7 separate regions of the Homo sapiens genome follow, and all the other regions are linked to region 1. The links are contacts of gene promoters, found by promoter capture Hi-C in blood cells and fetal thymus (Javierre and others, 2016). All regions are on one chromosome and are shown on one strand. Each heading gives the region's core, a stretch centred on a gene start or on the middle of the fragment in contact. The rest is flanking DNA. Distances are from core to core; before and after follow the strand shown.

Region 1 (3,335 bases), core at 820-3,319:
CCGACAAAAATGAGCACATAATGTATGATTCCCCCCTTTTTTTTGAGACGGAGTTTCGTTCTTGTCGCCCAGGCTGGAGTGTAGTGGCACGATCTTGGCTCACTGCAACCTCTGCCTCCCGGGTTCAAGCGATTCTCCTGCCTCACCCTCCCGAATAGCTGGGATTACAGGCACCCACCACGCCCAGCTAATTTTTGTATTTTTTAGTAGAGACGGGGATTCACCACGTTGGCCACGCTGGTCTGGAACTCCTATCCTCAAGTAATCCGCCCGCCTCGGCCTCCCAAAGTGCAGGCGTGAGCCACAGCGCCCAGCCTGATTCCATTCTATATGAAGTTCTCCAACAGGCAAAATGGTTATGGAGATCAAAATAAAGGTGGGGTCGGGAATCGACTGGGAAGAGACGTGATGAAACGTTTCTGGGACGATGAAAAGGGTCTGTGACTTGGTAGGCATCACGGAGCGGTTAGGGGCCAAAACTCATCTTCCTGTGCACTTGCTGTGTGCACTGGCGCTGTGTGTAAATGCCACCTCGATTTAGGAAAAAGATGACGTAAGTACGGCACAAAGTGGCCGGTACGCGGCAGGTGCATGGGAAGAAACTGCGGAATGAAACAACCGCGAGCTAAGAGATGGGGCAGCGGGAGAAATGAATTCGAGTTCCGCCTCCTACCAGGAAGAACCGGCTCGGGCCGGAGGGCTGCACGGAGGACCACACGGACGCCTGCGGGCCCGCCCCTTCCGCTTCACGACGTTCAGCCTGCGTCTGGAACTGGAATGGCCTAGCCCAAAGCTAGATAACAGGTAGATTGTTTTTCCGACAAATTATCAAACGACCCATCATTGCACTCTTTCAAAATTTGATTCTCAGACGTACCCATTCTTTTTTTTTTTCCTCCGGGAAGATGAGATATACTCATTCTTGAAAATACCTCCGGGCTTGCCTTCTGCACACTTCTTTCCCTCCCTGTCTCACGCCATGGTAGCGTCCGCCTAGGTTGCAGGCGACCCGCGGGGTGGGGCACACCATTCAAAGAAGGGGAGGGATTGAGGTTTGCATCAAAACAAATACCCCTGCCTTTGCAAAGGCCATAACTAAGTAATCCAGAAAAAGAAATGCAGGCGGAGAATAGCAGCCTCCCTCTGCCAAGTAAGAGGAACCGGCCTAAAGGACATTTTCTCTCTCTCTCCTCCCCTCTCATCGGGTGAATAGTGAGCTGCTCCGGCAAAAAGAAACCGGAAATGCTGCTGCAAGAGGCAGAAATGTAAATGTGGAGCCAAACAATAACAGGGCTGCCGGGCCTCTCAGATTGCGACGGTCCTCCTCGGCCTGGCGGGCAAACCCCTGGTTTAGCACTTCTCACTTCCACGACTGACAGCCTTCAATTGGATTTTCTCCATCTAGCGGAGCCGGGGGCTGCCTGGAAAGATCGCTCCAGGAAGGACAAAGGTCCGGAAGTTGTGGGACCTTAGCAGCTTGGGCTCCCCGGATCACCCCCAAATGATCATTTCGGAATGGAGCCCCAGTTTTCACTAGGATGCCATGGGCTCTAAAATATACAGCTATGAGTTCTCAATGTTTCGAGATCCAAAAGTCTCAGACCTCAATGCTTTGTGCATCTTTTATTTCAGGGATTCCCTACGCCCAGCACCGGGTGGATGTGCAAAGAAGTACGCTTTAGGCCGGCTCAAGGTTCCCCAAAGCTCCACTCCTCTGCCTAGGCGTTCAACTTTGAGTTCGGATGGTCCTAACATCCCCATCATCTACACCCAGGTCTCCCAACAATGCAACTCCTATGATGATCCCTCTAGCCAAGCTTCCATCCCACTCACCCCCAAACTCGCTAAGTCCCCACTGCCCCACCCCCAGCCCCAGCGATTTTCCCGAGCTGAAAATACACGGAGCCGAGAGCCCGTGACTCAGAGAGGACTCATCAAGTTCAGTCAGGAGCTTACCCAATCCAGGGAAGCGTGTCACCGTCGTGGAAAGCACGCTCCCAGCCCGAACGCAAAGTGTCCCCGGAGCCCAGCAGCTACCTGCTCCCTGGACGGTGGCTCTAGACTTTTGAGAAGCTCAAAACTTTTAGCGCCAGTCTTGAGCACATGGGAGGGGAAAACCCCAATCCCATCAACCCCTGCGAGGCTCCTGGCACAAAGCTGGACAGTCGCCATGACAAGTAAGGGCAAGTAATCCGCCTGCCGGAGGAAGCAAAGGAAATGGAGTTGGGGAGGAGGGTGCAGAGTCAGGATTCTCGCCGACCTGGTGCCGTAGATACTAACATTTTGGGGTGGAAAATTCTGCAAGCCAGAGCTGTGAGGGCAGAATTGGTGGAAATCATTTTGGAGGAATCCTGCATTGTGTCAAATATGAAGGGTGGAAGGAAGAAAGCTTTTGCGTTTGCTCTCAGCTGGATCCTTTCTTCTCATCAGTTAAAATGTCATTTTTTAGGAAGGCTTTCCGTAATATCACACCCTAACGTTTTCTCCCAGATACTTTATATCACACCATCTTATTTAATCTCCTTCACAACCCTTATCACTCTGATAAGATTTATTTGTTCATTGCTTTCAGTACATGGAAACGTAAGCCTTATGAGGATATAGAATTTTTCTACTATCTTATTCATTGTTGTATTCCTGAGTGCCTATATCAGTGCTGGGTAGCAAGTAAGAGCTCGATAATAAATATTTTTTGAATGAGGGAGACAGGTCTGAAGCCTGGAGAATGAGATGCAGAAGAGGTGCAAGACCTGCTGCGCCCTCTGCAGGCGGCGGGGGGGCGGTGCAGGTGCTTTAAGAATTACCGCGGGACTCGGTAGGGGGAGCGTAGGCGCTTCTCGCCAAGATAGAAGCGTTCAGACTACAACTCCCAGCAGCCACGAGGAGCCCTAGGGCTTGATGGGAACGGGAAACCTTCTAACCTTTCACGTCCCGGCTCCGCGGGTTCCGTGGGTCGCCCGCGAAATCTGATCCGGGATGCGGCGGCCCAATCGGAAGGTGGACCGAAATCCCGCGACAGCAAGAGGCCCGTAGCGACCCGCGGTGCTAAGGAACACAGTGCTTTCAAAAGAATTGGCGTCCGCTGTTCGCCTCTCCTCCCGGGAGTCTTCTGCCTACTCCCAGAAGAGGAGGGAAGCACAGGTGGGTTTCTTTAGCTCTGCGTCGGATCCCTGAGAACTTCGAAGCCATCCTGGCTGAGGCTAATCTCCGCTGTGCTTCCTCTGCAGTATGAAGACTTTGGAGACTCAACCGTTAGCTCCGGACTGCTGTCCTTCAGACCAGGACCCAGCTCCAGCCCATCCTTCTCCCCACGCTTCCCCGATGAATAAAAATGC
Region 2 (3,406 bases), core at 251-2,750, 480 kb after region 1:
CCCCGGCCATTCTCACCCTACTCACCTATGATGATGATGAGGATGATGGCGCAAATCACTCCCAAGATGATCATCATCTGGGGGTGAGAGGCGAGGATCAGTAAGACAAACTATGATACCCCATTCACCCACCTGTCCTCCTTCCTGTCCCCACCCTTACCTTGAGGTTTTTCCACCAGTATTTGCGCTTGAGCTTGGCTGCGCTTGTTTCAAACTGGGAGGCCCCCGCCTGGAGTGCATCTGCACGGTCGTCCAGCTCCGACAGCTTCTGGTCTCGCTCCAGGACCTTGTCCACGTTCACCCTCATGATGTCCACCACCTGGGAGAAGGGCCCACGAGGCAGGGGGGTGTGCCAAGGCCCACCTCAGTGAGGGCAATCCTCAAACATGTGCCCACCGTGCCACACATGGAACATGCACCCTGATACTGCCAGGTTAACATGCCAAGGACACACAGAACATGCCTAGCACACCTGGGGACATGCAAGGAGCACACATCAGGGGCATGCTGGTGACATCTCAGATGTCATAGCAACACCCTCCCTCTATGGAACCTCAGGCGCTCTGTCCATCACCAGAGCACACCTGCCCAGGCTGGCACACCCCAGGCTAGCAAAGCTGATTAACACCCCCAGCGCCCTTCCAAGTGCGTGCTGACAGGGAGACAGGGATGGGGCATGGTATCTTTGTCCGCAAACCCACAGGCGTGAACTGTCATCACTCCCAAACCAACATGGGCCCCTACACCTATACGCCAACCCCCAGGGTCCCTCCTACTGCTTTTGACTCCCCCCACACTCACCTCATCCACCTGGGCCTGGGTCTGCTGCAGTCTCCTGTTACTGGTGAGGTTTGGAGGGGGTGCAGGGGGACCACCCTCCCCAGCCGGGGCAGCAGGGGGGGCCGTGGCAGCGGTAGCAGACCTGAGGAGCAGGGACGGATTAAGACCCAGGGCCTGCAGCCTCCCGGCCCCGCAGCCAGGGCTCCGCCCATCCACCTGTCCATCCTCGTCCCTCCAGTCCTCCTTTTCGGGAGGAAGGCCACCCGATGTAAGCCCTGGTCTCGGTCCAGCCCTGCCGCCGATGAGCTGCGTGACCTTGAGCGAGGCCCCCCCGGCCTCAGTTTCCCCGCCTGTCAACTGAGGGCGACCTCACAGATGCGATCCGGGTCGACCCGAAAAGACAGGCGGCCGCGGTGACAGGGGCGGGGAGGGGCAGGAGGACACTGGGTCCGCTCCTTCCCGCGGCCATCGCCCGAGCCGGCCAGCCCGGGACGCGGGGCTCCTCGGCCGCCCGCGCGCAGTCACCGGCTTGGGCCTGGCCCCGGGGCGCGGGGAACGCAGGAGAGACCCCGGGCACTCCCGACGGCCGGTTGCCAAGGGCGGCGGCCGGCGCAGGGAAGCGCGGTGAGGGTGGCGGGCGGCCGACTCACATGGCGGGGGCAGCGGGTGGAGGACTTGGCAGCGGCAGTGATGGCGGCGGCGGCTCGCGCTGGCTCCGACTGGCGCTGGCTGCCCGGGACGGAAAGATGGCGGCCGCGCGTCACCCGCATCCGGGCACTGCGGGCGGGGGCGGGGCGCCGCGGGAGACGCGTCGCGAGCGGGGCCGCGGGGGCGGGGCGCTGCGGGGCGCTGCGGGGCGGGGGTCGTGCCGGGCAGGACCACGGGCCCCGCGCCACCATGCCCCGGCAGCTCCCTCGGCACTCGCGGGACCCCAAGGCGGGCTGCTGCGGCTTCCCCAAACCCACCGCCACCCCACCCTGTCTGACCACAGCCCCCCCAAACCGCCTGCCGCCTGCCCCTTAGAGCACAACGCAGCCTGGCCCTACACCTAACCCCCAGACCACTCCCTCAATCGTGAACCCAGTAAACCAGCCTGCACCCCACACAGCCCAAGGTCTTGCCCCGCGCCCAGGTCCCAGCACCTAGCGACCCGCCTTCAGCACTTGGAATGGGCTGGAGTTGGGAAATCAGAGAGGGCCAGTGCAGGTGCTGGGGCAGTATCGAGAGCGGGGACCTTACTGCTAGGGTGGAGAGGAGTGGGGGAGATTGGTCCCAACCCATCACCGCTGGTGGATGTCTCAGAGGAAGCCTGGGGTCCCTGGCCACTGGGTAGGAGGGTAGGAAGAAAAGATGAGGCAGGCTCTTCCCGCCCAAACAAGTCCAGGGGGCGGAGGACGGGGGAGTGTCTACAGGGTGTGGGGAGGGGGCTGCCCCGCCTCACGATTAAGGTTCAGACTAGGGGTACTTAACCGCTGGAGCAGGCCCGACTGAGGTGGGGTGAGCTGAGGACCCCGAGGAGGAGGGCACAAGGCTGCCGGGGGTGATGGGGGCAGGGGCTGCTTCACGTGGTGGCTGCTGACTGGCCAAGACCTAGCTTTGCCCCAGGCTTAGGTCAGCGACCCGACTGCAGGAAAGGGCTCAGGCTTTGGTCCCAGGCACAGGGCCTGGGCCAAAAAAAAAAAAAAAGCCTTTTTTCTTTTTCTCTCATTTTTTTTTCTTTAGTAGTAGGCACAGTGGGCACAGGTTACAAGGTGCTGCTTTACATGCGTATTCGCCTCGCAGGTGTGACCTTGGACCGTTGCCCTCCTCTCTCTGGACCCCAAATACATTGCATATGTAGGTACTAAATCCATATTTGTTAAATGGCTTGATGTGGATAACATAGGAGATTATCCCTGGCTGGTCTCCATTAGGCCCTCTAAGCACACCCAGCAGCTGTATACACTCCCACCCAGCTTGTCAGAGAAGATGGGACCAGGGGAGCTGTCGCTCTGGTGGAGTGCAGGGGGTCAAAGCAAGCCTCAAGGGTGCAGGAGGCATTTTAGGCGAGGCCCTTTGGCCCTGGGGTGGGGGTGCTTACTACATCCCTGGAAGGTGCAGGGAGGCTGATGGCCTTGATCTCTAAGACAAACAGGAACCAGCTTCCTCCCTCCCCCACCCTGGCTTCCCAGGGCCTCCGGGTGTGAGATCCTCCCCCACTGCAGTGCCCCACCCGCTCCCCACAGAAGCCCGGAGAGTGGCTCTGTCACCAGAGGTGTCATTTCCCAGCTGTCTGTGGGAGGTGAGTGAGCAGGGAATGTGTGTGCTGGGTGTGGGAACTCAGCCCAATCTAAGAGAAGATACTCTTGGCTTCCTCCCCCTCAGAGGAGCAGCCGCGTCCCTGGTCCTTGTGCACTGACAGTCCCGGGTGGCTCAGCCTATGTGATGAGAAAGAAAAGAGCAGCTTCCACGGGGGTCTCAGATCATGCTGTGAGATGCTGGCTCCTGCTTTTTGGTCTTCAAATGATTCCTCTTTCTAGTCAGAGAACAAAGATGCCAAATTCCAGCCTTTTAAGTTCAAAACCCTCAGTGTCTGTCAGGGTATAAATAAGACATGGAGGATTGGAAGAGGCAGGCACAGGAAGCC
Region 3 (3,344 bases), core at 596-3,095, 450 kb before region 1:
GCCAAGATAACTCCCAAGATAGTATCAGCATCCCCATGTCAAACAATCTTTCTAGCTAGAGTCCAGTTTGTTCAGTTCTTCTAAAACCCATGCTATCCCAACTTAATCCAGCCTGCCTTCAAAAAAGCAGAGGTTGGGCCGGGCGCGGTGGCTCACGCCTGTAATCCCAGCACTTTGGGAGGCTGAGGCGGGCGAATCACGAGGTCAGAAGTCAGAGACCAGTCTGGCTAAAACGGTGAAACCCCGTCTCTACTAAAAAATACAAAAAATTAGCCGGGTGTGGTGGCGGACGCCTGTAGTCCCAGCTACTTGGGAGGCTGAGGCAGGAGAATGGCGTGGACCCGGGAGGCAGAGCTTGCAGTGAGCTGAGAATGCGCCACTGCACTCCAGCCTGGGCGACAGAGCGAGACTGTCTCAAAAAAAAAAAAAAAAAAAAGCAGAGGTTGAGGACCCAGAAGGCTCAGCCCCAAAGACCATAAACACAAAAGGGCTTTCTCTGCATTATTTACACGCCAATCTAGTCCAAGATAGCCCTGAATGTCCCAAATTACCCTAGGATAGCCCAATCTATTCTAGCACAGCCTACAATGCCCCCACACGCAGCTGTCTGCACCAGTCTAGATTGGAACATCCCAATACGGCTGCCTGTGCTAGCACAGGCCCCAACAGCCTTGTCTGCCCCTATACCGAGTGCTCCAATAAAACCAAGTCTTGCCCCAAGAGAAACCAGGATTAACCAATACAACCCAGTAGAGTCCATAATGGCCCAAGTGTTTTTTGTTTTTTTTCTGAGACGGAGTCTCGCACTGTCGCCCAGGCTGGAGTGCAGTGGCGCGATCTCGGCTCACTGCAACCTCCGCCTCCCAGGTTCAAGAGATTCTCCCTGCTTCAGCCACCCAAGTAGCTGGGACTACAGGCGCGTGCCCCCACGCCCGGCTAATTTTTTGTATTTTTAGTTAGTAGAGATGGGGTTTCACCGTGTTAGCCAGGATGGCCTCGATCTCCTGACCTCGTGATCCGCCCGCCTCAGCCTCCCAAAGTGCTGGGATTACAGGCGTTACAGGACTCCTGAGAACGTACTAAACAACCAGACAATGGATCAATTTACTCAGTACAGACTAGAATACTCCAACATAAACCAGTATGCCCCCACCTATTCCAGTAAAGCCTAATCTTGTCTAATCTGGTTTAGGATATCCTAGTCTGTCCGTGTGCCTCAATCTATCCAAGCATAACCTTGTCCATCCTGGGATAGTCAACCTACCTCAGCATAGTACAATCTGCTCCACCATAGGCCAGAAAATCCCAGTGTGGCCCAAAGTAGACGTGTGCCCCTCCATGTCGCCCAATCCACTCTAGCAAAGCCCCCGCCGGTCCTATCTAGGCCTTGCGCTCACCCGAAATCCTGATCCATAGACTTGAAAAAGTACTTGGCGCCCGCGGGCCGCTGCAGGACGCTCTTGAAATCGCCGAGGGTGATGCGCTCGGCGGGGACAGGGATCTTCACCAGGTAGGGAGTCTCTTCCTCATCCAGGTGGTAAATCACCTTCGTCTCCCCAACCCCACCGCCCCCAGTGCTGCTACCCGCCATGGTCTCGCCCGCGCGCTCCCGGGCTCCACCGCCCACCCAAAGGGCTAATGGCCCCTGCCGCGCCTGCGCACACCCGCAAACCGACGCGCGAGCGCGGACAGGACTGACCCAGTACGGGAGAGAAGCAAAGGGGAAAAAGCACGGATCTGCGAGGGTGGCGGCGGGGGGCGGGCCGCGGGGTGCGACTCAAAGCCCCGGTCTCAGCGGCCGCCGCGCGCCACCGCCACCGACGCCGCGAGCTTCCTCCAGGTACCCGCCCACCTCTCCTCATGTCACGTGACTTAAAGGCAGCCACCCCGCGCTCCTCAGCCGCCCTCCGTCACGTGATCCCCTCCCAATCACGTGACCGTCTGACTCCGCCTAGTGCCCCCGCCACATGATCGCTGCCTTCAGCAACGGTCTCCCAGCCCCCAAACGTGTACCCCAGCCGAGGTCCTCTGAGCACCCAGGCTAAGCTGGCCTGTGCCTTCAGGAAACGGACCATCGGCTCCCACCCCGCTTTACCCCACCCACGATGGAGCACGAAGCAACTCTGACCCGCAGGAGTGTGCGTGCAGGGAGTGAAGGTGGGGACTGTGGGGGTTCCTAGACTCGAGTGGGGAGGGCCAAATACAATGAAAGCTCTAAGGTGGCTTACTTGTCTTGGGGTGGGAAAGGCCCAGTGCTGTGATATCTTCAGATTGGACTTTGAGACGTGGGTTTCAGCCCCACCTCCAGCTAGTCTTCAGCCACCAAAGCCTCCCTCCCGAGCAGGACAGTGAGGGCTATAAACACAAAAGAGCCCACTCTGCTTTATTTACAACACGCAGGCTGTCTGTACAAACAGCGGCCGATATTATTAAAAACAAAAGAGGTGAGTGAGAATCGTCACCTTTCTGCTTTCCTTCCTCACTTGGCCAGGCTCTAGTACTCCACCTTTGAGCTGCCATGCCCAATAGGGGAAGTCCAAAATTAAAAATACAACCGGTGTAGAAGAAAATAAATGGGGAGTGAAATAGAAGAAAAGATGAGGGAGGGGAGTGCTAATATTTACACTAGAGTTTTATAGACAACTGTCCCATTCCATCCCAATTCCAATCCTGACCCAGAAAGTGATGGTGGCAGGTCCAAGAGACAGAGATTATGTGTCGGGACACAGACAGCCTCCCATCCCCAACCGTAATGGATTCAATTTCAAGTCCACAGAGTGGGGAGGAAGGATAGGGTGGGAAAGTGAGACACTCATTTTCAAACAAGTCTCCCTTGAGAATTCCTGCCTTGAAGTGCAGACAGTATCCAAGCTCCAGGGGATAGGCTGAGGACCCTGAGGCTCAGTTCCCAAATCATGTTGTCATTTGGAAGTTCCAGGCTAAAGTTGGTGCCATCAGGGCTCTCCAGATTTGGGAGGCCCCCCTAACCGCCGGGCCTCTGGCCTCAGTTCCTTGCATTTCTGGCAATAAAAGAAGTCGGGGACGTTGGTCTTCTTAATCTTAGCACAGGAGAGGTGGATCCACGTCCCACACAGGCTGCACTCAATCATGGGCCGCCCTGCAAAGGGCTTTCGACAGTAACATGTGATCAGATCCCATGAGTCATCACCTGGGGAAAAAAAGGTTTGTTTGGTATTCTGCCTGAGCTGTTGGATCCACAACACCCTCAAACCCCTCGCCCCAGCCCGAACCTCTCACCTGATTCTACCATGATGTCCTCGTCCATGACCCGCATCTCGCCTTCACTGGAGCTGGCATCTCCATCTTGGCTTGTTTCAGTGCTG
Region 4 (3,457 bases), core at 958-3,457, 440 kb before region 1:
AGTAACCTGTGGATGAGCTGAAGCACCACTCCGTATGCCCAGAAAACTGATGTGTTGGAGCGAGAACGTCAGAGAAGATGGCAGTCAACCCATAAAGAAAACCGCTGGAGGCCGGGTGCAGTGGCTCAATCCCAGTACTTTTGTGAGGCCAAGGCGGGCAGATCACTTGAGGTCAGGAGTTTGAGACCATCCTGGCCAACATGGTGAAAACCCGTTTCTACTAAAATTACAAAAATTAGCCAGGTGTGGTGGCAGGTGCCTGTAATCCCAGCTATTCGAGAGGCTGAAGCAGGAGAATCGCTTGAACCCAGGAAGTGGAGGTTGCAGTGAGCGGAGATGGCACCACTGCACTCCAGCCTGGGCGACAAAGCGAGACTGTCTCAGAAAAGAAAAGAAAACCCCAGGAGATAGCCCCACACATATCCCAGCATCTCTGACCCTAAATTTTTCTTGGCTCCTAGCTCTTGTCTCGGGGGAATAGCGCTGCTGCCTACAGCCACAACCATCCTGTACTGTTCGCGCCCTAAATCAGGAAGTGGAAGCAGACTGGTAAAGGACAGAATGAACCCAAGGCCAGACCCATTCTCCCAAATCAGTTAAATCAACCACCACTACCACTGAGGGCTTTCTGGAAATTCTCTGGACCCCAGGTCACCCCAACCTGGGTTTATTCTTTCAAATTGTATTGAGGTATGCTAAGGGGTACAGACCACAGTACAGACCCAGAACCTGTGTCTCCGCTTACTAAATTCTCCCCAGACTCCTTCCGAGGATTCTCCCTGGTGGTGGTGAGACCACAAGAGCACATTCATTTAAAGTGCTGTTAGCTGAAGGACCTCTGACCTTGGAGAAAAGCTAAGGGAGAGGGGACCCAGAGATGCTTGGGTCCATCCGGACAGTTTCCCTCAGAATGCTAGGCTCTCCTGGAGAAGCAAACGTCCTCATTTTCAAGCCCTACAACTGCCCAGCGCTGTCCTCTGACAGGGACACCCAAACTTCAATGGTGGGCACAGCACCCACCTTGAACTCCCTCCCACAATTAAAGAGGCCCATCGTAAAAGCATCTGCTTTAGTCTTCAATAAATCCAGATACCTACACTCACACTATGAAATAAATTTTCACAGCCTTTTTGGAGGAATTCTCTTAATGGGAACCGCAGGCGTTTCTCCTTCACACCCAGGGCTTTCCCAAGTTCCCGTCCTTGTTTGTAACGTATGCCCTCCCACCCACCTCCACCCTTGACACACAAGTCTGTCTCTTCCTTGTTATAGGACCAAACACACACCGAGGTTCCAAATAGGGTCTTTCCCAAGCCCACATCCACAGATCCGGCTGTCATCAAACAGGTGTTCCCCGCCTCTTGGTTTCTTTAGCAACAACTCCAGCTTTCTTAAAGAGCGCCCCACCCACCACCTTAGCCCCCAAGAGTTGCCAAATCCTGTCCCATCTAGCCCCATCAAAACCCCCAAGGGCAAGGTTCTATTACAAGGGTCTCCCACCTCGCCCCGCTTAGGGTGCCCAATTCTCTGGCGAGAAAAGCCCCAGCCAGGATTCCCTTCCTAGGCCCAAACAGAGGCCCGACACTCCGAAAACCCCTGAGCACCACGGACAGATGTCCCCAACACCGCCAGACGTCCCCAACACCGCCAGCGCCCACCCTGGCTCACCGTGCGGATCTGCCTCCGCAGAAGGTAAATGAAGAAGCTCCAGAGCTTGGCGGCGAAGGCCACGAACGTGCGCAGCCCCAGCAGACACTGCGTCCGCATCATCCCGATGACCCCGGCACCGCCGGCCCCGGGGCCCCCGCGGCCCAGCTCCGCCAGCCCCCCGGGGGCAGCCCCCCGCCGCCGGGAGGGGGAACGGGGGCCCCGAGTGGCAGGAGAGGCTGCAGAGAGGGGCACGGAGCGGGCGGCTCAGAAAGCCACCCCTGGCGAGGGTAAAGCCCAGCGGAACGGGGAGCTGGGGGACAGGCGTGGGCAGCCCGCGGGGGCCCACATGGGCTGGGAGTGGCACCGACGGCTTCGGGGAGGTTGCGGGCCGAGACAGGTAGGGCTAGGATGGGGTCCTCCGAGACCTGGAGGGAAGGGGAAGGATAATTGGGGGAGGGGGCAGTGGGGGAGGGGGCTAGGGAAAAGGGAGGAAGGGAAAAGGGAAGGGGAGGGGGGGAAAGCAGAGAGTGGCCCGCTGCGCAGGCGCGCTAGGGGGCTGCTCGCAGGAACGGGGAGGGCGGGGGCAGCGGCGCGCAAAGGGCCGCGGCAGCGGAGAACGGGCCTGCAGAGCGAAGGAGCAGGGAAGGAGGGGGAGGGGGAGCCGGAGGGCGCAGAGCGCTGGGCCGGAGCGGCCTCCCCCTCCCCGAGCTCGGGGGTCCTTTAGCCGCTGGGGACCGGGGCTGCAGCCTCTGCAGCTGGGTTTCCCACTCTGACAGGCGCCATTTTACCGTCCAAAGGACTCCCTCTTCCTGTCTTTCCCCCTCCTCTTCCCCTTTGACACTACTTCCGGTGGTGACGTGTATTCGCTTCACCGGGACTAAGTTCCTCCTGCGCGGTCTATGGCGGGTAGGTATAAGGAAAGCCAAAAGCACTCCAAGCGAGGCTGCAGTATTGCGCACGCGCAGAAGGTGGCCGCGGGGCGGGGCCTGAGGCGAAGCAGGCCCCGCCTCAAACTGCGTGGGCGGGGAGAGTGACGTCACTTGGCCCGCGCTTAGGGCCCTCGCGGGGGGCTTGTGGGTCCTCCTCCCCCTCCCACTGACAACTGCCCCAACTGCTCTTCCCGCCCCGGTCACAGTGAAAATGTAGACGGGGTCGTTGTCCGTACGACTGTGCGCCAGGGCTCGGGGAGGGGCGCCCTCCGCGTGAGCGCCCCCCTGGGAATATTGAACATAATCACCTCTCATTCCAGACTATGTTAGGTCTTAATGGTGGGAGGACGCCCGAGTGCTCGGCCCGTTTCACCCCGAGGAGGAAGGACACTGGGTCATGACGCCATCAGAGGGCGCCAGAGCAGGGACCGGACGCGAGTTGGAGATGTTGGACTCGCTGTTGGCCTTGGGCGGCCTGGTGCTGCTTCGGGGTGAGAGCCAGAGGCACGGTGGCGGGGCGGGGGGTGCGGTTCGGGCCTGGCTGAGGGGACGGAAGTGGGCAGGAAGGGCCAGGGGTCACAGGCTAGGTGTGGAAATCGCGACGGGTTCGCGAAGGCGGTAATCCCAGCGCTCTCATACCCTTTATCCGTCCCTCGCTCTGCAGATTCCGTGGAGTGGGAGGGGCGCAGTCTCTTGAAGGCGCTTGTCAAGAAATCTGCACTGTGGTGAGTATCCCACAGTGTCTCCCCGGCCTACCCTGGATAGGGCACCTGTGCCCACTCTTTGACAATCCCTTCTCATCTCTGCCTTAGTGGGGAGCAAGTGCATATCCTGGGCTGTGAAGTGAGCGAGGAAGAGTTTCGTGAAGGTTTTGACTC
Region 5 (3,078 bases), core at 274-2,773, 480 kb before region 1:
GCAGATGGCAAAGAGTGGGGAGAGGGGGGTAGGCTTGGGGGAAGGGAGCTTCTCACCGGATGTAACACCACAGGGTGTTACATGCCTTATGTGCTACACATGGACACCCCAGGGATCATGTCCACCGGGTCCTGGTCCCCATTTCCTGCCCCATCCCCCCAACCCCCCATATCTACCCAGATATTTTCATAACCCTCCCCTAGACTTGCCCCTCACTTTCACAGACATTTGCCCTAAACCCTGCACCCCGGGAATCCGGGGTTCCCCAGCTGCAGGCCCCTCCCTCGGTCTCACCAACCAGCCGTCCAATCCACCCCTTCCTCTAAGGACCGTGTTGCCTAGCAACGGTATCTAGGACCAGTCAAGACCCGGGGAGACCCACCTCCAGGAGGCCCTGTCGTCAGGACAACAGGGGGGTGGGGCGTGGCCTGGGGCCGACCAAACTCCTGAGCGCAGAAGGGATCCGCTAGCCCCGCCTCTCCTGCCCTGGGCCCCGCCCCACGTTAGCCAGGCCGAGAGGAGGCCGGGCTGAAGAGGTTTGTGGGCGCAGCGCATCCTGAATAACCTGCCTTCCTCGCTCCCCTACGCCCCTCACCCTACGCAGTGCAAAGGACGTCAGGAACTGGGAGTGGTGAAAGACATCCGGGTCCTATCCCGCTCATCTACTCCCTCCCCCCACTTCATTCGGGAAAGGGTTAAAGTGGGGCGTGCCCAGGTCCCTGACGTCAATCGCCTGGTCTCTAGACTCCCAGGCGGGGCCCGCTTTAGCCCGGTCCTAGGGGCTTCCCCAATTGCCAGGGCAACCGAAGCCACGTCTCTATGGCAATGGGGGGAGGCCGCCAAGAGCCTCCTTCCGGGGTCCCCAACCTACTTCCTCCTTAAAGAAACATGTATTTGCAGTCGCCCAAGCGCAAGGATTCCCCAGTCTCCTTCCCGCTCTCCCCGTCCAAAGGGGTCCCTCCCCTCTCCTACTGCTATTTCTCAAGCCTACAAACTACCGACCATTTTCAAGCTGTATCACAGATTTCACACCCATAAATCTATTAACACCACCCTCCAACCCTTCACATATCAGCAAATGCTGTTGTCCAACCAACAGTCACTGACTGCCAAAATCTCATCCACGTGTTCATCCCCCATCCCACAGCCCGTCCCCCATCCCACAGCCCGTCCCCCATCCCGCAGCCCGTCCCCCATCCCGCAGCCCGTCCCCCATCCCGCAGCCCGTCCCCCATCCCGCAGCCCGTCCTCCATCCCATAGCCCGTCCTCCATCCCATAGCCCATCCTCAATCCCCATCCCCATCCCTATCCTGGAACCTCCTTCCCAGCACACCCACCTTCATCCACTACGACATTCATTTGCTTCCCATCCCTATCTCTGCCCGCATCCCACATGCTCCATCTCCATCCCTGTCTCGCCCTTCAACATCCATCTTCCAACCCCAGCCTCCATTCTCCATCCGCTTCCCTGGCCCTGTCGCACCCTCCAGCCCCATCCCTTACCAATGTGGCCTCATCCTCCATCCCAATTTCTTTTTTTCCAGAGACAAGGTCTCGCTGTGTCACCCAGGCTGGAGTGCAGTGGTGTGATCATAGCTCACTGCGGCCTTGAACTCCTGGGCTCAAGCAGTCCTCCCACCTCAGCCTCCTGAGTAGCTACAGGCACATGCCACCCCACCCAGCTACTCCATCTCAATTTCTGATTCCCCAGAGAGTTTATCACCATTCTCCCTTACCCTACCTTCATACCCTCAAGATTATTCTCAAGTAACAATCTTACACTTCTCAATCAACTCCCCTCTCTTCTGAAAATTGGGGCTTCTCCTGTTCCCCAGGTGAGGCCTTGTCCTGAGACCTCCACCCCATGCTTATGGCCTCCAACACTCTCTCCCTCCACCCCCTTCTGCTCCTGAGCTCTGATCAGCAGCAGCTCTGTACTAACTACCACCCCTCAGGCTCCCTACCTCCTCTTCCCCCTGCTCAGGGATTTAATGGCCCTGCCTTGCACAAAGCATCTCTAGTCTTCTTTCCCTCACTCCTAGCATCCACAGAATTCGCACAAACACTCTGTACCATCCCTGTCTCCAGGGCCTTCCTTTCCTTGCTCTGTCAGCCTCATTCACTGCCCTGATCTCACAGTCTTATCCCTATCTGGCCCCTGACCCAGGACCTCTTACCCTTCCTATCCCCCAACTCCTCTCTTGCCAGTTCTAACTCCAGAACCTGCTTGCCCGCTCCCTAGGCTCAGAGACCTCCTCCCCATCTTCTTGGTGAAATGTCAGCAACCTCCCCCTTCCCAGAGCATCCCACAACATCCTAGAATCCCCACCCTGACCCCACAGTGTCCCCTCAATCTCACAGCTTGCCTGGTGCTCTCCAGTCCTCCCCATCCTGTGTCCCCAGAAGAGGAGATGGAGGAAGGGGAAGATGGAAAGTGGACTGGAGAATGGAAGGTCCCAGAAACCAGGCCTCCCGGGACTGGAGAGAGGAGGACGCTGTGAGCAGAGAGGAGAAAGGGAAACAGGTGGTGGGGGATGATGGAGGGGGCAGAGGGGGATAGAAAGAAGATATGGCAGAGGTGAGAACCCAAGAGGATGAGAGAGGGGAGGAGGAAAAGAGGGAAGGTGAAGATGAATAGGCAAGAGGGAACATGGGAAAGGGGAGCTGGCTGATGGAGGGAGAGGACTGATGAGGGAAAGGACTGATCAGGCCCCAGCGGCCTGGGCTGGGGATCAGGGAGAGGGAGAGGAGAATGCGTGGGAGGAAGAGAGAGACAGCATCAAGAGCCAGCCAGCCAGCCAGCCAGCAGGGAGGAAAGGCTGCAGAGGGGGAAGAGAACTCAGGAGTGGAGCAAAGCTGGGGCAGGGGACGAGGCAGCAAGGCCCCACCATGTGAAGTCTCAGGCCAGACAGATGGAAAGAGCTGGAGACTTGGGGACAGGGCGAGCCAGGCCCAGAGGCGGAGGTAGGGGGAGGAGGCGGGGAAGGGACAAGAGCAAATGAGGGCAGCAGGCGCTTGGAACAGAGCTCTGGACACAGAAAATGGAAATGGAGGTTGGGGGTGTGAAGGAATGAAGA
Region 6 (3,207 bases), core at 325-2,824, 500 kb after region 1:
GGTGTTTGGCCAAGGACGGCACAAGCTCCCACAGCCCCTGGCACCTGAGATGTGGCCACTGGAGTCAGGATAGCCACAGTGGGGGCTGGGGCTTCCTCTGTCCCTTTCTCCTGATTACATGTGGGAGTCACGTCCTCACCTTCAAGCAGACCTAAAGCCCCGTGTTCCCAGGGCTGGTGCTCTAGCTAGGGAGGAGAGTTGGGAAGAACAGGGTAGCTACAGATGGCCAACTGAATACAAGCAGAGCAACATCCCTTCCCACCAGGAGAGCCGTTAGAACTTCCCCACATACACCAGCCTAAGGCCCAGCGAGTGGGCACGGGCCAGCTGAACGCATCTGGAAGAGCCTCCAACACACAGGCCTCCCCTCAGTGGGCACTTCCCACCAGGACTCCCTGAAGAGTCCTTAGGGTCCTGCTGGGCCCTGCCCTGGCCAGGACCGGCCTCTCCTGTCCTCCTGGTCACTTGCACAGGGCCTCCAACACCTCCAGAGTACGTCGGATATCCCGGACTTGGCGCGCCAGCCCCTGAACCGGCTGCAGAGCCCGCTCCAGCTCCTCGCAGCGCGCCAGCAGGGTGTACATGCCCTTGATGCTCATGTCCACGGCTTCACCTAAGGAGTCCACAGCATCGCGGTAGGTCTGGATGCAACCCACGCTCAGCGCCGTCAGCTCCTGCACCGCGCCACCCAGACCGCGAAGCAGACGGTCCACCCGGCCTCCCAGCTCCCGACTCAACCGCTCCAGATCCCGCAGCACCTCGGGGTCGATTGGGGGAATGGCCGGTGTGGGTGTGGGTGCAGGCGCTGGGCAGGGCCGCGCAGGGGCAGAAGGCGGGGGTGGAGGCGCGCCGCTCAGACGGATCTTGAGTTGCAGGTTGTTGGCGACAAAGTGGGTAAGGTCGCCGTGGCGGCTCACTGTGCCTTCGAGCTCCAGGGGACTGGAGATGGTGGCGCGGCGTCCGCCGCCCGCGCCGGACTCGGCACTCCCTGAGGACCCGGCGCCACCGCACGCCTCGCTCAGCCCGTCCAGGCTGCGGCTGTCCTGAAGACGGCTGGAGAACGAGCGGCCGGCTCTGCTGCCCGCGGCCGCCTCCTCGTCGTTGTCTTCCTCCTCCTGCTGCTCAACATCCATCCCGCCGCCTGGTCCCCCTCGACGGCAGTCCCTCCCGGAGGAGGGCTTGCCCTCGGGCGGCGCCGGGTTCTTGTGCCGGGAGGACAGGGAAGGTTCGTGCTCTGCACCCGGCGCCCCCCTGCGGCTCCCGGCCCCAGACAGCGTCCCTTGAGGGCCGGGCTCGTTCTCCAGAGCCTCCCGTTCCGGCCGGTGGACGACGCCGCAGCTTGACGTCTTCGGGGACGTCCTGGGGTGGCGGTTCGCGCCCCCAACGTTCTCGGTCTCTTCCTCCCCGGACACCCGGAGGCCTGCGGGCGGCTCAGAGGACGTTCGGCCCGGCCCGCCGCCAAAGACTAGGGCCTGATGTTCCGCTACAGCCAGAAGGTCCGTCTCGGGCCCGGGCCGCCCCCGAGACGACTCCATACTGCAGGTGGGGGCCGCAACGGAGGAATTGGTTCGCCCCGGCTCCGGAGGCAGTGGCTGCGCCTTTAAGGGGCGTTGGTAGAGGCGAGCCGATTGGCAGCGGCTGACAATGGTAAGGACAGGAAAAGCATTTTGATTGGTCGCGGCGACCAGGAAGTCCCGGAAGAAGAGCTGTTACTGCACAGCGGAACACACGTGAACGCCGGCAGGGTGGAGAGAAGGAGGTGACAGCTGCTCCCGTCGCCCCGCCCTTTCTGAAAGCTGATGGGGCAGATCTTAAAGACCAAGGTCCTCAAATTCCTGAGTCCCGAGGGGTGGGGCTCAGATCCTTTCTGCCTGTAATTGTACCCCCCCCAACAGTGATTGCTTAGCAAAAATACCAAGTGGGGAGCCCACTTGGGGTTCCTAGAGAGGTTCTTAGGATGAAAATGGCATATCCTTCTTGGACCATCAGGGTTGAACCTAGTTGACTAAAAAGAAGGAAACCAGAAGTCCAGCATGAGCATGAATGGTTTGCTCTATCTTTCTTGGTTAAGAGACCTAACCACTGAACTGCTCAGAGCGACCCACTGTGGTCAAGGCAGCGGCCTCTGGGCTTTCCTATGCGTTTGTCACTCTTGTTCTGTGTCTCTTGCCCCTTTCACACTGAGGGGTCTCGCCCCTTGGAGGATGGCGTGTGATTTTGCCACGAGGTAAAATATTCAACAAATGAAATGATCACAAATTTTGATATGTGCTATACAGGAAATAAAGTGTTATGATTGAGAATATAACTGAGCAGGCACTAGTTTAGGTAAGGGGTCAGGAAAATACCTCTTTGGTGAGACTTTTAACTAAAAAGAACCAAAAAGACGCAGCCACCCCCCAGGCAGAGAGAAGAAAACTTGAGCTACCTCTCAGAGACAAAGAAGTCTTGACGTATTCAAGAAACTGAGGTGAGGGGGCAGGAGACATTGGGACTAAAACAAAATCAGCAAGATAAGGGGAAGGATTTCGAGCCAAGGAGCTGAACAGGCAGCAGGGGCCACGTCATGCAGGGGGCCTTGTAGTTCCTGTTAGGGAATGGAGATTTCCTCTAAATGCAATGGTGCAGCGACATTGGAAAGGTTGTACATTGCAACACATAGCCAAAGCTTGGAGACATCAGTATTTTTATTTATTTATTTATTTATTTATTTATTTATTTATTTATGTATTTAGAGACAGAGTCCCACTCCGTCACCCAGGCTGGAGTGCAGTGGCGCGATCTCGGCTCACTGCAACCTCCGCCTCCTGGGTTCACGCGATTCTCCTAACTCAGTCTCCCGGGTAGCTGGGATTACAAGCGCCCGCCACCACGCCCGGCTAATTTTGTATTTTTAGTAGAGATGGGGTTTCACCATGTTGGCCAGGCTGGTCTTGAACTACTGGCCTCAAGTGATCCACCCGCCTCGGCCTCCCAAAGTGCTAGCATGACAGGCGTGAGCCACCGTGCCCGGCCAGACATCAGTATTTAATAAAAACAGTTTGCTAACTCTCCTTAGCTGACAAAGGATGTGGTTGTTTTTTCCATTTGGATAGAGAGATGTCTTGAGGCAGTGTCATGCCAGCATTCAGAAGTGCAACTCCCCAGAACTTCCCAGCACTACTATCCCCAGGTGCCTGCCGGGGTCCTAGCCAGCCAACCCTAATG
Region 7 (3,293 bases), core at 351-2,850, 440 kb after region 1:
AGGGACGGATGCGGGAGCTGGTGGTGCCCCCGATCGCATTTGCGCACTGCCCACAGAACGCGCGACCAAATGCGGAGTGGAGATGACCAAGGAAAGTCCTGGCCCACCCTGAGACGAAACTGTCCAATCCTAGGGGTTGGAACCAATGCCCAACGCGTGAGGAGGAGATTTGAAACCGCAACCCAGGGAATGAAATTAACCACCCGACATAACAGAGGCTGGCTCATCAGAGGCTGGCTGTGGGGGAGGGGGAACCGGACACTTAGAGACCCAAAGGGTGAAACTGACCGACCCCGGGAGCGAAATTTACAGAACCAGGCGTGAAACTTACAGACCCGAGGGGTGGCGAAGAAGATCGCGTTCTGAGAGCGAGTGGGGGTCTGGGATGGAATTCCAAAGGCGGGACTCGGGTGAGGATGCCTTGGGGCCAGGGTTGCCAACCAAGCTTGTGTCCCCACCCCAGTGGGAAGCCCTGGGACGCGGAAACGGGAAGCTTGGGGACCTAGGGCTAGCGGAGGGACTGACCTGGTCCCGGGTCCGCTCCAGCAGCAGCAGCCTCAGCTCTTCCAGGCTGCGGTTGATGCGGTCCCGGCGCCGCTTCTCCACAAGCGGCTTGAGCATCTGCGACCAGCGAGAAAAGGAGAGCGGGCCGACCAGACCGAGACTCAGTGCGGCCGCCCCGGCGTCGGATCCCGCCGCTGGGAGAGCCCGGCTTCCACCCCGGCCACAAGACCCCAGATTGCCTAGGGCCGGCCCCATTCGATCCCTCTCCGCTCCCCCTCCCAATGCCCCTAGATCAGTTTCTGTAGCTCGCCTCCCCGGATCTTCGCATTCTCCTCTCTCAGTCTCGTCCTCCCTCCTCCCCTCTCTGTGTCTCTCCTCCTCTTTTCTCTCTACGTCTCCGTCTGGTGCAGTTTCTCTTTGTCTCAGTGGAGAACTTTGGGGACTCTCTGCGCGCACGCACGTGCGCCGCACGGTGCCGGGCTCAGACCTGGCGGCCCTGAGTATAGAAAGGGAGATACCTAGCGCGACCGCGCCGCCTCTTTTCCCTCAAAACCCTCCAGGCCTTCACCTTCTCCACGGTTCTCCTAAAATCTTCCACCAGTCTGGGGCCTCTGGAACCAACGCCCCGGGACCTTCTGTACAAGACCGCCTTGGGCCAGCCCCGCCCGGCTCACAGCCAGAGTGGAGCAAGTGCCTATCCTCTTCTCTTTTCGTTCCCACCCTCCTCCCTTGGCTCTGCCCTCTAATTGCTTATTTTACTCCAACACCGGCCCCCTCCCCAGGCCACAAGGTGCCGACACCCATTACCGAGGCCCCTAGTCCTATGTTCCCGCCGCCCACTCAGGTCTGGCTCTGACCCCTGTCCCCTTCTTCATATTTTGCAGCTTCCTCTCCAGCTTCTGGCTCCTGGAGTTCTGGAGCACCGCTCCCCTTCCACCCCTGCGTCCCCAGCCTCTCTCCAGACCGACGGCGTCAGGGGCCCAGTCCCCTAGCCAAACCAGGGACCTCTGCTCCCTCCCCTCCCGCCTCTCACCTTGGGGCCGTCCCTATTCTCAGCTCGATCCCGGGTGACCATTGCTCCTCCGGACCCTGTGTGGACCGGTTCCCTGCTCGCCTGGAGCCTTATATTCCGCGGCCCAAGGGTAGGAGGGATAGGACCCGACCCCGCCCCCTTCGACATCCAGATTCTGCCCCTCTAGGACCCGGCACGAGGCTCCCGGAAAGAGGAGGAGTGAAGGGGGGAGGGGAAGGAGAGAAACTGGCCTGGGAGTGCGGGAAGTGAGGGGTGAATGGGGGCACTGGCTGGTTTACAGACCGTAAGGCTGTATAAGGAGGCGGGACCCAGCTGAAAGGAGGAGGCTATTGGGGCAGAGCTCGCTTGGGGATGAAATTCAGAGTTCCTCCAGAATTGCAGCTTTCTGGGAGGCTTACTGTACCCTCACTAACCCTGAAATAGAAGTTAGCACCTCTCAGCCCCCAGGCTGAATTTTATACATCATCTCCGAAGTTCGCTTCCTAGTCGAGACAGGGAGCAACCCGAGTGCGCTGGGTGAATCTGTCCGACTCAACCGAAGCTCTGCCGGGAGGTTGGAGAGGCGCTCTCTTCTATCTAAGCCAGTTACATTCAAGTCCGCGAACATCTGCGCGCCCACTCTGCGGACAGGGCACTTGTCTAGGCTCGGGCGAGTCATAGTGAGATACGCAGGAGAGACCCAGCTTATCCCTGCAGGATCTAATGGAAAAGACCATGTGACACCAAGTAGCTATTACAGAAGCCCAGTGAAGTAGGTGCTCCGGGAAAAGGTCTCCTTAAGGATGGCTGGACTGAGGAGGATCTTCAAGGCAGAGGGAGCAAGTCTTTGAAACATAGGTATGAGTGGAGAGGTCTTTCCACTTACAGTACAAGTATTTGATTCAAAACTAGTCATAGGAGATTCAGGAGTGTGGCTGATAGGACACCTCACGCAAGTGTGCCCGCATTGCTTGCTTCTGGAGGCCCCTGGTGACTGTAGGGTAGCAGGGAGCAGGCAGTTTACTAAGGGGAAAGCAAGGGGTACAAAAAAGGGATCAACACCCACCTCAAACCAAGAGCATGACCCTCCGCAGAACGATGCCTGACCACTCGAGGGCTTCAGGACAAAGTGTCTGAGAAGATAAATCAGAAACTGAAGGGAACAGCCAGGTTGCCAGGGATAAAGACACGGAAAGACAGGGTTGCAGACCGAGACGGAAGACAGCTGTGAAATCAGAGACCAATGGGGTTTCCTTCAAGCCCTCCCAACGGCCCTCCGCACCTTGGTTTTGTCACGAAGCCTTTCTTGCCATCATAGCCCGAGCCGGGAGAGGCACAGACCTTGAGGAGGGGGCTCCCATTTGGGATCAGGGCCCCCAGCACATCCCACCTCTCCGTCCTTCAGCCAAATGGGAACGCAAATGTGTGTCCCCATCAGCCCCCGCCGCCCCCCTCCTTGGGAACCTGGGCTCGGGCTGAATTTTTCTCACCTGCACGCGAGGCTGGGGGCCCCCGGCTGTTCGCACCCGGGTGTGGGGCCGCCCCTGGCCATATGGGGCGGCTTTATGGCCCGGTGGCCGGATCCGGACGAGAGGAAGGATGACTTGGCGCTCCACCCACGGCAACCATTCGGGACCACTTCCCTGGCCTACACCGTTGCCTGTCCGGGTCCGCCTCAACCTCTTACAATCTCAGATAGGATCCCCGCAGAATCTTTAAGCCGCGCATTGGTGGTTCAGTGGTAGAATTCTCGCCTGCCACGCGGGAGGCCCGGGTT

Evidence for each region. Contacts are between HindIII fragments. The CHiCAGO score rates a contact against its expected background, and 5 or more counts as called.
Region 2: the fragment with the promoter of VAMP2 here is called in contact with the fragment with the promoter of TP53 in region 1 in 3 of 17 cell types (fetal thymus, naive CD4 T cells and non-activated CD4 T cells); the score reaches 10.3 in fetal thymus.
Region 3: a contact is called between the fragment with the promoter of DVL2 here and the fragment with the promoter of TP53 in region 1, in 4 of 17 cell types (fetal thymus, non-activated CD4 T cells, activated CD4 T cells and 1 more). The highest score is 9.4, in fetal thymus.
Region 4: the fragment with the promoter of CTDNEP1 here is called in contact with the fragment with the promoter of TP53 in region 1 in 5 of 17 cell types (fetal thymus, total CD4 T cells, activated CD4 T cells and 2 more); the score reaches 7.6 in fetal thymus.
Region 5: a fragment that was not itself captured here is called in contact with the fragment with the promoter of TP53 in region 1 in 2 of 17 cell types (fetal thymus and non-activated CD4 T cells); the score reaches 5.9 in fetal thymus.
Region 6: a contact is called between the fragment with the promoter of BORCS6 here and the fragment with the promoter of TP53 in region 1, in 1 of 17 cell types (fetal thymus). The highest score is 6.6, in fetal thymus.
Region 7: a contact is called between the fragment with the promoter of HES7 here and the fragment with the promoter of TP53 in region 1, in 1 of 17 cell types (naive CD4 T cells). The highest score is 6.6, in naive CD4 T cells.

The regions. Positions count from the first base shown.
Region 1 is chr17:7,685,421-7,688,755 of GRCh38, forward strand. TP53 (tumor protein p53) reads right to left here and starts at 2,070. Exons shown (of 11, transcript NM_000546.6): 1 at 1,957-2,070. It overlaps WRAP53 (WD repeat containing antisense to TP53), which reads left to right and starts at 3,057. Exons shown (of 11, transcript NM_001143992.2): 1 at 3,057-3,141; 2 at 3,228-3,335. The coding sequence starts at 3,229. RefSeq lists a silencer at 431-490 and enhancers at 791-920, 940-1,487, 951-1,000, 961-2,160, 2,959-3,008. The HindIII fragment of the contact is 572 bases long and covers 1,816-2,387 here.
Region 2 is chr17:8,161,448-8,164,853 of GRCh38, forward strand. It overlaps VAMP2 (vesicle associated membrane protein 2), which reads right to left and starts at 1,501. Exons shown (of 5, transcript NM_014232.3): 1 at 1,431-1,501; 2 at 802-922; 3 at 161-319; 4 at 26-77. The coding sequence starts at 1,432. RefSeq lists an enhancer at 669-718 and silencers at 829-938, 1,229-1,418, 1,579-1,678, 1,809-1,868. The HindIII fragment of the contact is 9,788 bases long and covers 1-3,406 here.
Region 3 is chr17:7,232,672-7,236,015 of GRCh38, forward strand. DVL2 (dishevelled segment polarity protein 2) reads right to left here and starts at 1,846. Exons shown (of 15, transcript NM_004422.3): 1 at 1,398-1,846. The coding sequence starts at 1,591. PHF23 (PHD finger protein 23) reads right to left here. Exons shown (of 5, transcript NM_024297.3): 4 at 3,259-3,344; 5 at 2,367-3,169. The coding sequence ends at 2,955. RefSeq lists a silencer at 1,584-1,883 and an enhancer at 1,994-2,043. The HindIII fragment of the contact is 14,867 bases long and covers 1-3,344 here.
Region 4 is chr17:7,249,527-7,252,983 of GRCh38, forward strand. It overlaps CTDNEP1 (CTD nuclear envelope phosphatase 1), which reads right to left and starts at 2,208. Exons shown (of 8, transcript NM_001143775.2): 1 at 1,669-2,208. The coding sequence starts at 1,770. It overlaps ELP5 (elongator acetyltransferase complex subunit 5), which reads left to right and starts at 2,689. Exons shown (of 8, transcript NM_203414.3): 1 at 2,689-3,070; 2 at 3,244-3,304; 3 at 3,392-3,457. The coding sequence starts at 3,025. RefSeq lists enhancers at 1,811-2,398, 2,399-2,987, 2,856-3,075 and silencers at 1,936-2,055, 2,126-2,335, 3,106-3,345. The HindIII fragment of the contact is 9,547 bases long and covers 1-3,457 here.
Region 5 is chr17:7,204,564-7,207,641 of GRCh38, forward strand. All of the region lies in intron 2 of DLG4 (discs large MAGUK scaffold protein 4), which reads right to left. Among named protein-coding and RNA genes, the nearest start is that of DLG4, 12 kb to the right of the region's middle. RefSeq lists an enhancer at 607-656. The HindIII fragment of the contact is 8,126 bases long and covers 1-3,078 here.
Region 6 is chr17:8,188,606-8,191,812 of GRCh38, forward strand. It overlaps BORCS6 (BLOC-1 related complex subunit 6), which reads right to left and starts at 1,575. Exons shown (of 1, transcript NM_017622.3): 1 at 1-1,575. The coding sequence starts at 1,535. The coding sequence ends at 462. It overlaps LOC124903913 (a long non-coding RNA gene), which reads right to left. Exons shown (of 2, transcript XR_007065604.1): 2 at 2,670-3,207. RefSeq lists enhancers at 742-1,388, 1,367-1,646, 1,389-2,034 and silencers at 827-876, 947-1,006, 1,207-1,256. The HindIII fragment of the contact is 3,696 bases long and covers 1-2,666 here.
Region 7 is chr17:8,122,506-8,125,798 of GRCh38, forward strand. HES7 (hes family bHLH transcription factor 7) reads right to left here and starts at 1,601. Exons shown (of 4, transcript NM_001165967.2): 1 at 1,538-1,601; 2 at 526-621. The coding sequence starts at 1,579. It overlaps TRG-GCC2-6 (tRNA-Gly (anticodon GCC) 2-6), which reads left to right and starts at 3,241; the gene lies at 3,241-3,293. RefSeq lists enhancers at 1,459-1,979, 3,256-3,293 and silencers at 3,120-3,169, 3,280-3,293. The HindIII fragment of the contact is 4,110 bases long and covers 492-3,293 here.